2 separate regions of the Homo sapiens genome follow, and region 2 is linked to region 1. Evidence: promoter capture Hi-C in 16 types of primary human blood cells and fetal thymus (Javierre and others, 2016). All regions are on one chromosome and are shown on one strand. Each heading gives the region's core, a stretch centred on a gene start or on the middle of the fragment in contact. The rest is flanking DNA. Distances are from core to core; before and after follow the strand shown. Region 1 holds the start of ZNF441 (zinc finger protein 441). Region 2 overlaps ZNF564 (zinc finger protein 564).

Region 1 (5,874 bases), core at 3,303-5,802:
TTACTGCCAACTAATGATTAATGATATTCATATATAATCATATCTAAGATCTATATCTGGTATAACTATTCTTGTTTTATATTTTATTATACTGGAACAGCTCGTGTCCTCGGTCTCTTGCCTCGGCGCCTGGGTGGCTTGCTGCCCACAGCCTGGGACTTTTATTATTTATTGATTGAATTTCTTCAATAGTTATAAGCCTTTTCATATTAATTAGTTCTCCTTTTGTGAGTTTTGGTAGCTTGTGTCATTCAAGGAATTGGTCCATTCCATGTAATTTATCAACTATGTGGGCATGCAGTTGTTCCTAATACTCCTTTGAGGTCCTTTAATGTACACAAGATGAGTAATCATAACCCCCCTTTCTTCTGAGTTAGCTTGCCTATGGGCTTATTCATTTTATTGATCTTTTGAAGGAACCAGCTTTTGGTTTGTTAATGTTTTCTACTGATTTCTTGCTTACTATTTCATTAATACCTTCTCTCATTGTTATTTTCCTCTGCTCGATTTACATGTATCCTGCTATTCTTTCTTTAGTTTCCTAAAGTGGAAGGTTTTTAAGCATTGGTTATATATCTTTGCTTTCTAGAGATTGCATTCAATTTTTTTTTTTTTTTTTGAAACAGAGTTTTGTTCTGTCACCCAGGCTATAGTGCAGTGGTAGGCTAGGCGTGGTGGCTCACACATGTAATCCCAGCACTTTGGGAGGCCAAGATCAGCAGACTGCTTGAGCCCAGGAGTTCAAGACCAGCCTCGGCAACATGGTGAAACCCCATCTCTACAGAAAACACAAAAAATTAGCAGGATGGGGTGGCACATCCAGCCACTCAGGAGGCTGTAGTGGGAGTTCCAGCCACTCAGGAGGCTGAGGTGGGAGGATCACTTGATCCCAGGGAGCAGAAGTTGCAGTGAGATCATGATACTGCACTTTAGCCTGGACAACAAAGCAAAACTCCACTTCAAGCAAACAAACAAACAAAAAGTCCCAAGAAAAAGGAACAGGCCAGCATGGTTTCACTGTTGAATTCTGGAAAACACTTATGGAAGAAATGACACCAATTCTCTATAATCTCTTTCAGAAAATACAAGCAGAGGGAACACTTTCTAATTCATGTTGTAAGGCCAACACTGATAATATGGTTTGGCTCTTTGTCACCACCCAAATCTAATCTTCAACTGTAATCCCCATAATCCCCATGTATCAAGGGAAGGACCTGTGGGAGGTGACTGGATCATGGGGGCGGTTTCCCCCACGCTGTTCTTGTGATAGTGGGTTCTCATGAAATCTGACGGTTTTATAAGTGTTTGACAGTTCCTCTTTCACATGCTGTCTTGCCTGCCACCATGTAAGAAGTGCCTGCTTCCCCTTCCGCCACAATTGTAAGTTTCCTGAGGCCTCCCCAGCCATGAGGAACTGTGAGTCAATTAAACCTCTTTTCTGGTAGTTCTTTATAGCAGTGTGAAAATGGACTAATACAACTGCCTTAACACCAAAACTAGACAGACATTACAGACATATCTCCACCATGTGAGGGCATAACAGGAAGAATGCCATCTGCAAATCAAGAAAGAGGCCCAGGCTGGGCACGGTGGCTCACACCTGTAATCCCAGCACTTTGGGAGGCCGAGGTGGGCAGATCATGAGGTCAGGAGATCGAGACCATCTTGGCTAACATGGTGAAACACCGTCTCTACTAAAAATACAAAAAATTAGCTGGGGTGGTGGCATGTGCCTGTAGTCCCAGCTACTTGGGAAGCTGAGGCAGGAGAATCACTTGAACCCAGGAGGCGGAGGTTGCAGTGAGCTGAGATCATGCCACTGTTCTCCAGCCTGGGCAACAGAGCAAGACTCCATCTCAAAAATAAAAAATAAAAAAAAAAAGAGTCCTTTAGTAGACAACTGACCTGCTGCTTGAAACTGAATTCTCAGCCTTTATAGCTTTGAGAAATGAATATCTGTTGTGTAAGGCATGCAGTCTATGGTAAATTTGTTATAGCAACCCAAAGGACTAAGTTAGGAAGGGTCTTTCTCTACCACACATCAAGGCTTTGAAGACTATAGTAATCAGGAGAGTATGATATTAGCAGACTGATGGATACATAAACCAATGAAAAATGGCAAATTCTGGAACAAGAGCATCTACTTAAGGTACAAGAACCTATGACACAGCAGGTATTGCCAGGCAGTGATACAAATGAGGGACACTTCAACAGAAATGATGGAGACAAATGGTTACCTACAGGAGAATAATCCATCTTCTGCCCAGCATCTCCATATACAATGATCAACTAACTATAGACTTTCCAGTTTTCATTAATTTTTACTCAGTTTGTTACCTCAGCTTCCATTTTGAGTGTGGTTTCGTTTTTCCATACCAAAAAAGGGGTTTTATGACCCTTGACACAGTTTCTAGTTCTCTATCTTCTCCCAGTTCTTCAATTTGGTTGATCCATATGCATCCCTTATACCATCATCTCCTTTCACCACCTCCCTATGGGTGCAGAGTGTGTCAAGTCAGGTCCTCCTATCACCTGGAACATCCCCCATCACCATGCTGCTCACCGAAGTGCTCAATAACCATGATCCCAGGAGACACTACATTGTTAGCTTTTCAGGTTCTTGCACCACCTCAGTGGAGTTGGTTTTCCTGTCCTTAGGGATAGTTTTCTCCCTTCATTAGTCTGAGAACATCAGAAGGGAAGAATCATTTCAGTCCTGTCCCCTTAATACCACCATCCAATTGGCTGACCAGCCATATATCCCCAAGGAAGGGATGGGGGAAGAAAAGCTGAGTGTTCTAAGGAAGTAGCTTATTGAGGAAGGGTATACCAGGAGACTCCTCCCACTACAGGGCATCATGCTGCTTCCCTACAAGGTCCCACCATCTCCACCTCAGGGTGTCCTCTGGGAGGAGTGACAAAGGGACTGATATTCACTTGACACTACAAGAGACTTGGCAGCTGTGGGCATCTTGGGGTGGCCCCAGGCAGCTCTGAAACCCAGGACCAGGAAACCATAGAGGATGGGCTGGGGACTCATCACTCTGTAACGTTTCCAAAGAGGAAACTTAATCCAAAGACATTCTCAAAAGGTGTCTCTGTCTAGGGATGATGAAGGGAGGACAGTAACAAAGATTTTATTTATTAATATTCATTTTTTTTACAGCGAAATGTCTGGTGGTTTTTCTCTGCTTCCTCTCATGTGAAATGTTCACAAACACAAAACCTTTTACAAAGAGCCATATATTGCTATGTATAAACAAAATGACAATTAAAATACTAGCCTCTGTTTGAAAAATAAACTGGGGGACAAGGAGTTCATAAAGTTGCTGTGAATTGAGGAGAGAAAGCCTGAGGAAGGCTCTGGAAGCCAAGGGATTTTCTGTCGGCCCTAGGAGGAGTTAGGATGAGAGAACACAGTGGTGGACTTGAGACCCTGCTGCCCACATCTTTGGAAGACTCGAAGGCGAACGGGTCACCCTTGGGAAGAAAGAAGGGACAGGGGACCACACAGACCACAACTCCTCCCACACACAAACCCCACACACGAGTCTGCCTGGTGACCTGTCATCACCGTGCAGCCTCCTCACCGGGTTCACAGAACTGCGAGCCAGGCTGGAGGCGAGATTGCAGTTAGATATTAACCAGGTGCCCTCAGCCCCGCTGCCTCGCGGGGCCGCCTCCCCAAGAGTCAGGCCACAGCAGATGCTGACCGCCGGCTTCGCCATTGTGCTTGGGGATGAGATCTCTGAGAGTTGCTCAAGAGTCGCCTGAGTTCTTTCTCAGATCCTGAATTCCAGCGGAAAGGCTGGCGCCAACCAGGCTGAAGACCCCACAAGGGAACCCACTCAGCAGAAGAATGCGGTTTCTTCACCTCCAGTCCCAAGAGTCACCCCTCACTTCCCCACCATCCAGCGACCCCACGCCCCAGCCGCCCCTGTCCACACCCCTAAACACCCCATCCCCAAACCTCTCAGGAAGGCGGATCTGGGGTGTCCTCCCCTCTCCCCCTATTAAACTGTTTCTGCTGCAGCCCTCGGCGTCTCGGTGCAGTGACTCGGGCCGCGAACCTGTGCCGGTTACAGCCGCACAATCTGGGGAGACGCAGGACTGCGGGCGCGGAGCTGCCCAGACAGGCCTCCAGGGCCAGGGCCGCAGTGGCCGCGCAGGGACGGGACAGGACGCCCGGGGTCCCGGCTGCCGCCCCAGCCCCATCGTGCGGCCGAGGGAACCGAGGGCCGAGCTGCGCCAGGGTGTCGCCGGCGGGGAAGACCTGGTGCCACCACAGCCGGTTCCGGCCGGTTCCAACCAGTCTCTCCTCTCACGCGTCGGGACACCAGACCTCACACACTCACCATTTCCCGGCTTCCGGCGTCCAGGTTCCTCCCTCTGCCTCCCGCTGTCAGTGCGGGTCCCAGCGAGACAGAAGCTGCCACAGACGTTCCAGGGCGTCTCTCAGTGACAGAACCCGGAGCCCAGTGCAGGGGCGTGGAGAAGACTCGGCGGGCTCTTTGAACCTTGCACCCTCCTCCGGTCAGTGCGCCTGATTGACAGTTCTCACGACCCCGCCCCGCGGCCCTGATTGGATAGTGCGCCAGGTCCCTCCCCCGGGCACTGAGTAACGGAAGAAGCGATCTCGGGCAGCGGAGTGGAACCTGATAAACAGATTCCAGACAGGCCTTGAGAGGACTAGCTTCCTCCCTGCGCTGTGACCTGACCCCCTCCCAGGGGACATTTGCATTTAGGCAGTATGTCCTGACCTTCCTCCTTTTTCCTCTTGGACAGGGACCCACAAGTCTGTGCAGGAAATTCCAGACTCACTGTCCAGTGGAGCTATCCCCTGATTTGAGAGCAGGAAGGGAGCCCAGGCCACACTGCAGCAGAAGGGAGGGGCTGATGTCCTCCAGGAATCAGGAGTTTTGGATGAGGCTGTTGGCTGCACAGGCCAAGCCTTTCTCCCACCTTATGTCTCAATCTACTAATTTTCAGTGCAGAATATAAAAACACCCCAACAAAGCCGGGCGTGGTGGCTCACACCTGTAATCCCAGCACTTTGGGAGGCTGAGGCAGGTGGATCACCTGAGGTCAGAAATTCGAGACCAGTCTGGCCAACATGGTGAAATCCCGTCTCTAAAATACAAAGATTAGCCGGATGTGGTGGCGCACGCCTGTAGTCCCAGCTACTCAGGAGGCTGAGACAGAGGAATCACTTGAACCTGGAAGGCAGAGGCTGCAGTGAGAGAGTGGGCGAGACAGAGGGAGACTCCGTCTCAAAAAAAAAAAAAAAGAAAAAAGAAAAAAGAAATAAATAAAATTGTTAAATGTGTGGAAAAACTGGAATTATATGGCGGCAATATTTTATAAAGCAAAAACTTGAACTAGCTCAGATAAGCAGCCTGCTGCATCCACACACAGTTCACAAGTCAACCACTTTCAGGAGGCCAAACATATTCCAAAGCTTGGAGGCCAGACGATAATTCCTGAAATGGAGCCCTAGGGTGGATCAGAACCTGGGGATGAGTCAGGGGCACTAATGGATTTAACTCTGGGAGTTCAATTTGCCCTCCTGTCTCCTAAACACAGCGTGGAAATGCTCCTTCCATCAAGCCTATAAATGTTATTGAATTAAATGCTTCAATCAAAGGCTGAGACATTAGACTTTGAATTTGAAAACATTCATCTTCATATTTTTATGAAGAATACCAGATATAAAAGCATTATGAGGCCAGGCACCGTGGCTCATGCCTGCAATCCCACCACTTTGGGAGGCTGAGGTGGGTGGATTGCTTGAGCTCAGGAGCTCAAGACCGGCCTGGGCAATGTGGTGAAACCCCCATCTCTATTTAAAAACAAACAAAAAAAAAGCGTTATTAA
Region 2 (5,589 bases), core at 1,203-3,702, 760 kb before region 1:
AACTCCTGACCTTGTGATCCTCTTGCCTCAGCCTCCCAAAGTGCTGGGATTACAGGTGTGAGCCACCAGGCCTGGCCAAAATTTGTTTTCTTTGTATAGCATTTTATTTGTTTCTCCAAGGTGAACTGGATCCTGCCATTAGAGACCAATAAAACTTGTAGTGACTACAGTAAAAATGTAGAGATCAGTTGCATGTTTTCATGGGGTAATTAAATTTATGAGAAAGTGAATGTAGACGGAATTCTGACAACCATATTTATTTATCATAAAATAAATGTTTGGAGACTGCCACATCGTTTTGTCGACTTTTTTGTTTTGTTTTTTGTTTGTTTGTTTGAGATGGGGTCTCTCTCTGTCAGCCAGGCTGAAGTGCAGTGGCGTGATCTTGGTTCACCGTAACCTCTGCCTCCCTTGTTTAAGCGATTCCCCTGCCTCAGCCTCCTGAGTAGCCGGGATTAACAGGCATACGCCACCACGCCCAGCTAATTCATATATCTGTAGTAGAGATGGGGTTTCACCATGTTGACCGGGCTGGCCTCAAGTTCCTGACCTCAGGTGATCTGTATGCCTTGGCCTCCCAAAGTGCTGGGATTACAGGCATGAGCCACCACACCTAGCCATTTGTGAACTTTTATGAATTGGGTTTACATCCCTGTACTGTCATCTCATTCTTCCTCCTGCATTGCATATTTGGGATGTTTTAGGACTCAGTGGCCTCTGAGGATGTGGCTGTGAACTTCACACTTGAGGAGTGGGCTTTGCTGGATCCTTCCCAGAAGAAACTCTACAGAGATGTGATGCGGGAAACCTTTAGAAACCTGGCCTGTGTAGGTAAGGATGACATCATTCCTTCTTTTAGTCAGTTAGAGAAGAAGTATTTCTTGCTTTTTAATGCTTTTTCATGATGTCTAATGTGGAAAAGGGAATACTTGGGTGAATAAATCAGGGTTGTTTGCACCTTATCATGAACTTAGAATCTAGTCATTTTTCTGTAATGTCTATCAGTTCATAAGGATTTTTTCTGACTATATTTTAGGAAAAAAATGGGAAGACCAGAGCATTGAAGATTGGTACAAAAATCAGGGGAGAATTTTAAGGTAATTTGCACTGACAAGATAAAGCAATGTCTCCTTCTTAGTATGTCATGAAATTTTAAAAATAAGTAAACAAACCAGTAAGCCCAGCTTCAGATTTATTTATTCCTACAACTTTTTCACCAGAAAAAGAAAAAGTGGCATAGATGTTCAGTGTTGCAAAATCATTCACTTGGAAATAGTATTAAGAAACTGTATATATGGATATCACTTTTTTGGTGATAGCTACTGTCAAGCTCTCTTGCAGAGCATTCCATCCATTCACTTTCAAACAATTCATACAGGCCTGAAAACTTACCCTTTCCGCGATTATGGTAAAAATGTAAGTCGAATACCTATTAATAAATATAAAGTCACAAACCACTAAATCTTGCTTTCTATTTTTTCCAGAAATCATATGGAAGAGGGACTCAGTGAAAGTAAAGAATATGATCAATGTGGAGAAGCCTTCAGTCAGATTCTCAATCTTAATCTGAACAAGAAAATTCCTACTATAGTAAGACCATGTGAATGTAGTTTGTGTGGGAAAGTCTTCATGCATCATTCATCCCTTAGTAGGCACATCAGATCTCACCTTGGACACAAACCATATGACTATCAGGAATATGGAGAGAAACCATATAAATGTAAGCAGTGTGGGAAAGCCTTCAGTTCTTGTCAATCCTTTCGAAGACATGAAAGAACTCACACTGGTGAGAAACCCTATGCATGTCCGGAATGTGGGAAAGCCTTCATTTCTCTCCCAAGTGTTCGAAGACACATGATTAAGCACACTGGAGATGGACCATATAAATGTCAGGAATGTGGGAAAGCCTTTGATCGCCCAAGTTTATTTCAGATACATGAAAGAACTCACACTGGAGAGAAACCCTATGAATGTCAGGAATGTGCAAAAGCTTTCATTTCTCTTCCAAGTTTTCAAAGACACATGATTAGGCACACTGGAGATGGACCTTATAAATGTCAGGAATGTGGAAAAGCCTTTGACCGCCCCAGTTTATTTCGAATACATGAAAGAACTCATACTGGAGAGAAACCCCATGAATGTAAACAGTGTGGGAAGGCCTTCATTTCTTTCACAAATTTTCAAAGTCATATGATTAGGCACACTGGGGATGGACCTTATAAATGTAAAGTATGTGGGAGAGCCTTTATTTTTCCCAGTTATGTTCGAAAGCATGAAAGAACTCATACTGGGGAGAAACCCTATGAATGTAATAAATGTGGTAAAACCTTCAGTTCTTCCAGTAATGTTCGAACACATGAAAGGACTCACACTGGAGAGAAGCCCTATGAATGTAAGGAATGCGGGAAAGCCTTCATTTCTCTCCCAAGTGTCCGAAGACACATGATAAAGCACACTGGAGATGGACCTTATAAATGTCAGGTATGTGGTAGAGCCTTTGACTGTCCCAGTTCATTTCAAATACACGAAAGAACTCACACTGGAGAGAAACCCTATGAATGTCAGGTATGTGGGAAAGCCTTCATTTCTCTTAAAAGGATTAGAAAACATATGATACTGCACACTGGAGATGGACCTTATAAATGTCAGGTATGTGGTAAAGCCTTTGACTGTCCTAGTTCTGTCCGAACACATGAAAGAACTCATACTGGAGAAAAACCCTATGAATGTAAAGAATGTGGGAAAGCATTCAATTATGCCAGTTCCATTAGAATACATGAAAGAACTCATACCGGAGAAAAACCCTATGAATGTAAGCAATGTGGAAAAACGTTCAGTTATTCCAGTTCCTTTCAAAGACATGAAAGAGCTCATAATGGAGATAAACCTTACGTAAAGAATGTGGGAAAGCTTTCATTTATCACACAACCTTCGAATACCTGTGAAAATGAATAGTGGAGGACAGGTCTACAAGTATCTACATATCTAAAGAATATGGAAAGTCTTCAGTTTGCTTTCTGGGTTTCAGACTTGTTTGGGAGCTCACCCCTTTCTCCTGTTTCTCACTTTTGGAATAGGAATCTCTATCCTGTGCCTGTCTCATATTTTGGAAATACATGACTAGTTTGGTTTTCACCGGTTCGGAGCTGAAGAAGAATTTTGCCTCAGCATGAATTGAGTCTCATCCATATCTGAGTGATGTGATATTGAGATGACACTTTGGAGTTTGAGTTTAAACATTAGGCTTCATGCTGGAATTAACTGAGACTTTTGAGGCCTTTGGGATGAGATGAATATATTTTACATGTGATGACATGGATTTTGGGGGCCAGAGGTGTAATGTTTTGGCTGAGTGTATGCCACCTCAGATTCATATGTTGAAACCTTACCCCCGTGCCCCCCCTCTCCCCCACAATGTGATGGTATTTGGAGGCCCTGTCTCTGGTGGTTTTTAGGATTGGAGGACATCATGAAGATGGAGGCCTTGTAATTGGGATTAGTTTCCTGATAGGAATCCCTAGAGAGCTAGCTTTGCCCTTCACCATGAGAGGGTGCAGTGAGAAGATAGCTATCTTTGAACCGGGAAGCAGGCCCTTACCAGACATGGACTATGCCAGTGCCTTGATATTGGACTTCCCAGCCTCCCAAACCATGAGAAATAAATGTTTGTTGATTAATTAAGCTTTCCAATTTATGGTATTTTGTTTTAGCAACCCAAGCTAAGACACAATCCAATTTTAAAATGGAGGAAAGGACTTGAATAGACATTTCTCCAAAGAAGATACCCAGATGGCCAATAAGCACGTAACAATGCTCGACATCTTTAGTCATTAGGGAAATACAAATCAAACTCAAGACATACATAGCATCTCATTAGGATTAGTAGTATCAAAGATGGAAAACAAGAAATACTGTCAAGGATGTGGAATGTTGGAGAACATTGTGCACTATCACTGGGAATGTACAGTGGTATAAGCCTGCTGAAAACAGTATGGCAGATCCCCAGATTAAAATATAGAAATAACATATGATCAGCATTTCCATTTCTGGGAAAATAAAAAGATTGAAAGCAGGGCCGGGCGTGGTGGATCACGCTTGTAATCCCAGCACTTTGGGAGGCCGAAGCAGGCGGATCACAAGGTCAGGAGATTGAGACCATCCTGGCTAACATGATGAAACCCCGTCTCTACTAAAAAAAAATTAGCCGGGCGTGGTGGCAGGCGCCTGTAGTCCCAACTGCTCGGGAGGCTGAGGCAGGAGAATGGCATGAACCCGGGAGGCAGAGCTTGCAGTGAGCTGAGGTCGCGCCACTGCACTCCAGCCTGGGTGAGAGAGCAAGACTCCGTCTCAAAAAACAAAACAAAACAAAAAAGATTGAAAGCAAAGTCTCAAATAGGTTTTGTACACCTGTGTACATAGCATCATTCACAATAGGTAAACTCTGGAAACTACTCAGGTTTTCATCAACAGATGAATAAACAAAAGGAAGTTTATACATACAAGAGAATATTACTGAGTCTTACAAAGTAAGGAAATTTACAAATATGCTGCAAGATGAACCTTGACGTGCTAAGTGAAATGGGCCATTCATGTAAAGACAATACGGTATGATTCTACTTATATCAGGTATCTAGAGTAGTCATATTGATAGAAAAAGTACAATACCATTTGCCAAAGGTTAGGGAAATTGGGTAATGGATAGTTATTTCATGGGCATAGAGTTTCAATTTTGCAAGATAAAAAGGGTTCCAGAGGTGGATGGTGGTGATGGTTGCACACTAGTATGAATGTTCTTAATGGCACTGAACTGTACACTTAAAATTGATTATGATGGTGAATTTTATGTATGTTTTACACACAAAAAAGGGAGAAAAGACCACAGTACTGCATAGACCTTGTGGGACCTTCAGCATACCAAGACACTCTAGGTCTCTCTTTTTTTTTTTTGAGATAGGGTCTTGCTCTGTCGCCCAAGCTGGAGTGCAGTGGTGAGATCTTGGCTCACTGCACCCTCTGCCTCCCAGATTCAAAGGCTTCTCATGCTTCAGCCTCTTGAGTAGCTGGGATTACAGGTGCGCACCACCACACCCAGCTAATTTTTGTATTTTTAGTAGAAACGGGATTTCGCCATGTTGGCCAGGCTGGTCTTGAACTCCTGATCTCAAGTGATCTGTCCGCCTCGGCCTCCGATAGTGCTGGGGTTACAGGCGTGAGCCACTGCGCCTAGTCTCTAGGTCTCTTTCCTACTTGTTCTCAGCACTGTTTTTTTCGTTTTTCTATCCATGAGGGACCTGTTCCTACACAGTCCATTTGGATTTTAGTAGGCATTTAGATTTGATCCCCAGGATTGACTTCCCTGTCTCCTCCCCCCTTCACTGTAGACCTGGACCTCACTCCCAGACCCAGGGCCTATGATAACCACTTCCCTTTATTGAAGAGGGATACTTTTAATTTCCTCTGCACACTATTCACAGACATGTATATCAAATATATATCTGATAATTTAAGCAAATAGAAATTCTTTGCTCGGAAATCTTTAAGAATATGAGAAGAAATAGCAGCATATAGTGTCCAGAAAAGGTGGGAGAG

Evidence for each region. Contacts are between HindIII fragments. The CHiCAGO score rates a contact against its expected background, and 5 or more counts as called.
Region 2: a fragment that was not itself captured here is called in contact with the fragment with the promoter of ZNF441 in region 1 in 5 of 17 cell types (naive CD8 T cells, activated CD4 T cells, M2 macrophages and 2 more); the score reaches 7.8 in naive CD8 T cells.

Annotation. Positions count from the first base shown.
Region 1 is chr19:11,765,678-11,771,551 of GRCh38, reverse strand. It overlaps ZNF441 (zinc finger protein 441), which reads right to left and starts at 4,552. Exons shown (of 4, transcript NM_152355.3): 1 at 4,356-4,552. The coding sequence starts at 4,358. RefSeq lists silencers at 3,522-3,631, 4,082-4,221 and an enhancer at 4,292-4,391. The HindIII fragment of the contact is 9,985 bases long and covers 1-5,460 here.
Region 2 is chr19:12,523,812-12,529,400 of GRCh38, reverse strand. It overlaps ZNF564 (zinc finger protein 564), which reads left to right. Exons shown (of 4, transcript NM_144976.4): 2 at 705-831; 3 at 1,037-1,097; 4 at 1,485-4,028. The coding sequence ends at 2,955. Among named protein-coding and RNA genes, the nearest start is that of ZNF564, 25 kb to the left of the region's middle. The HindIII fragment of the contact is 920 bases long and covers 1,993-2,912 here.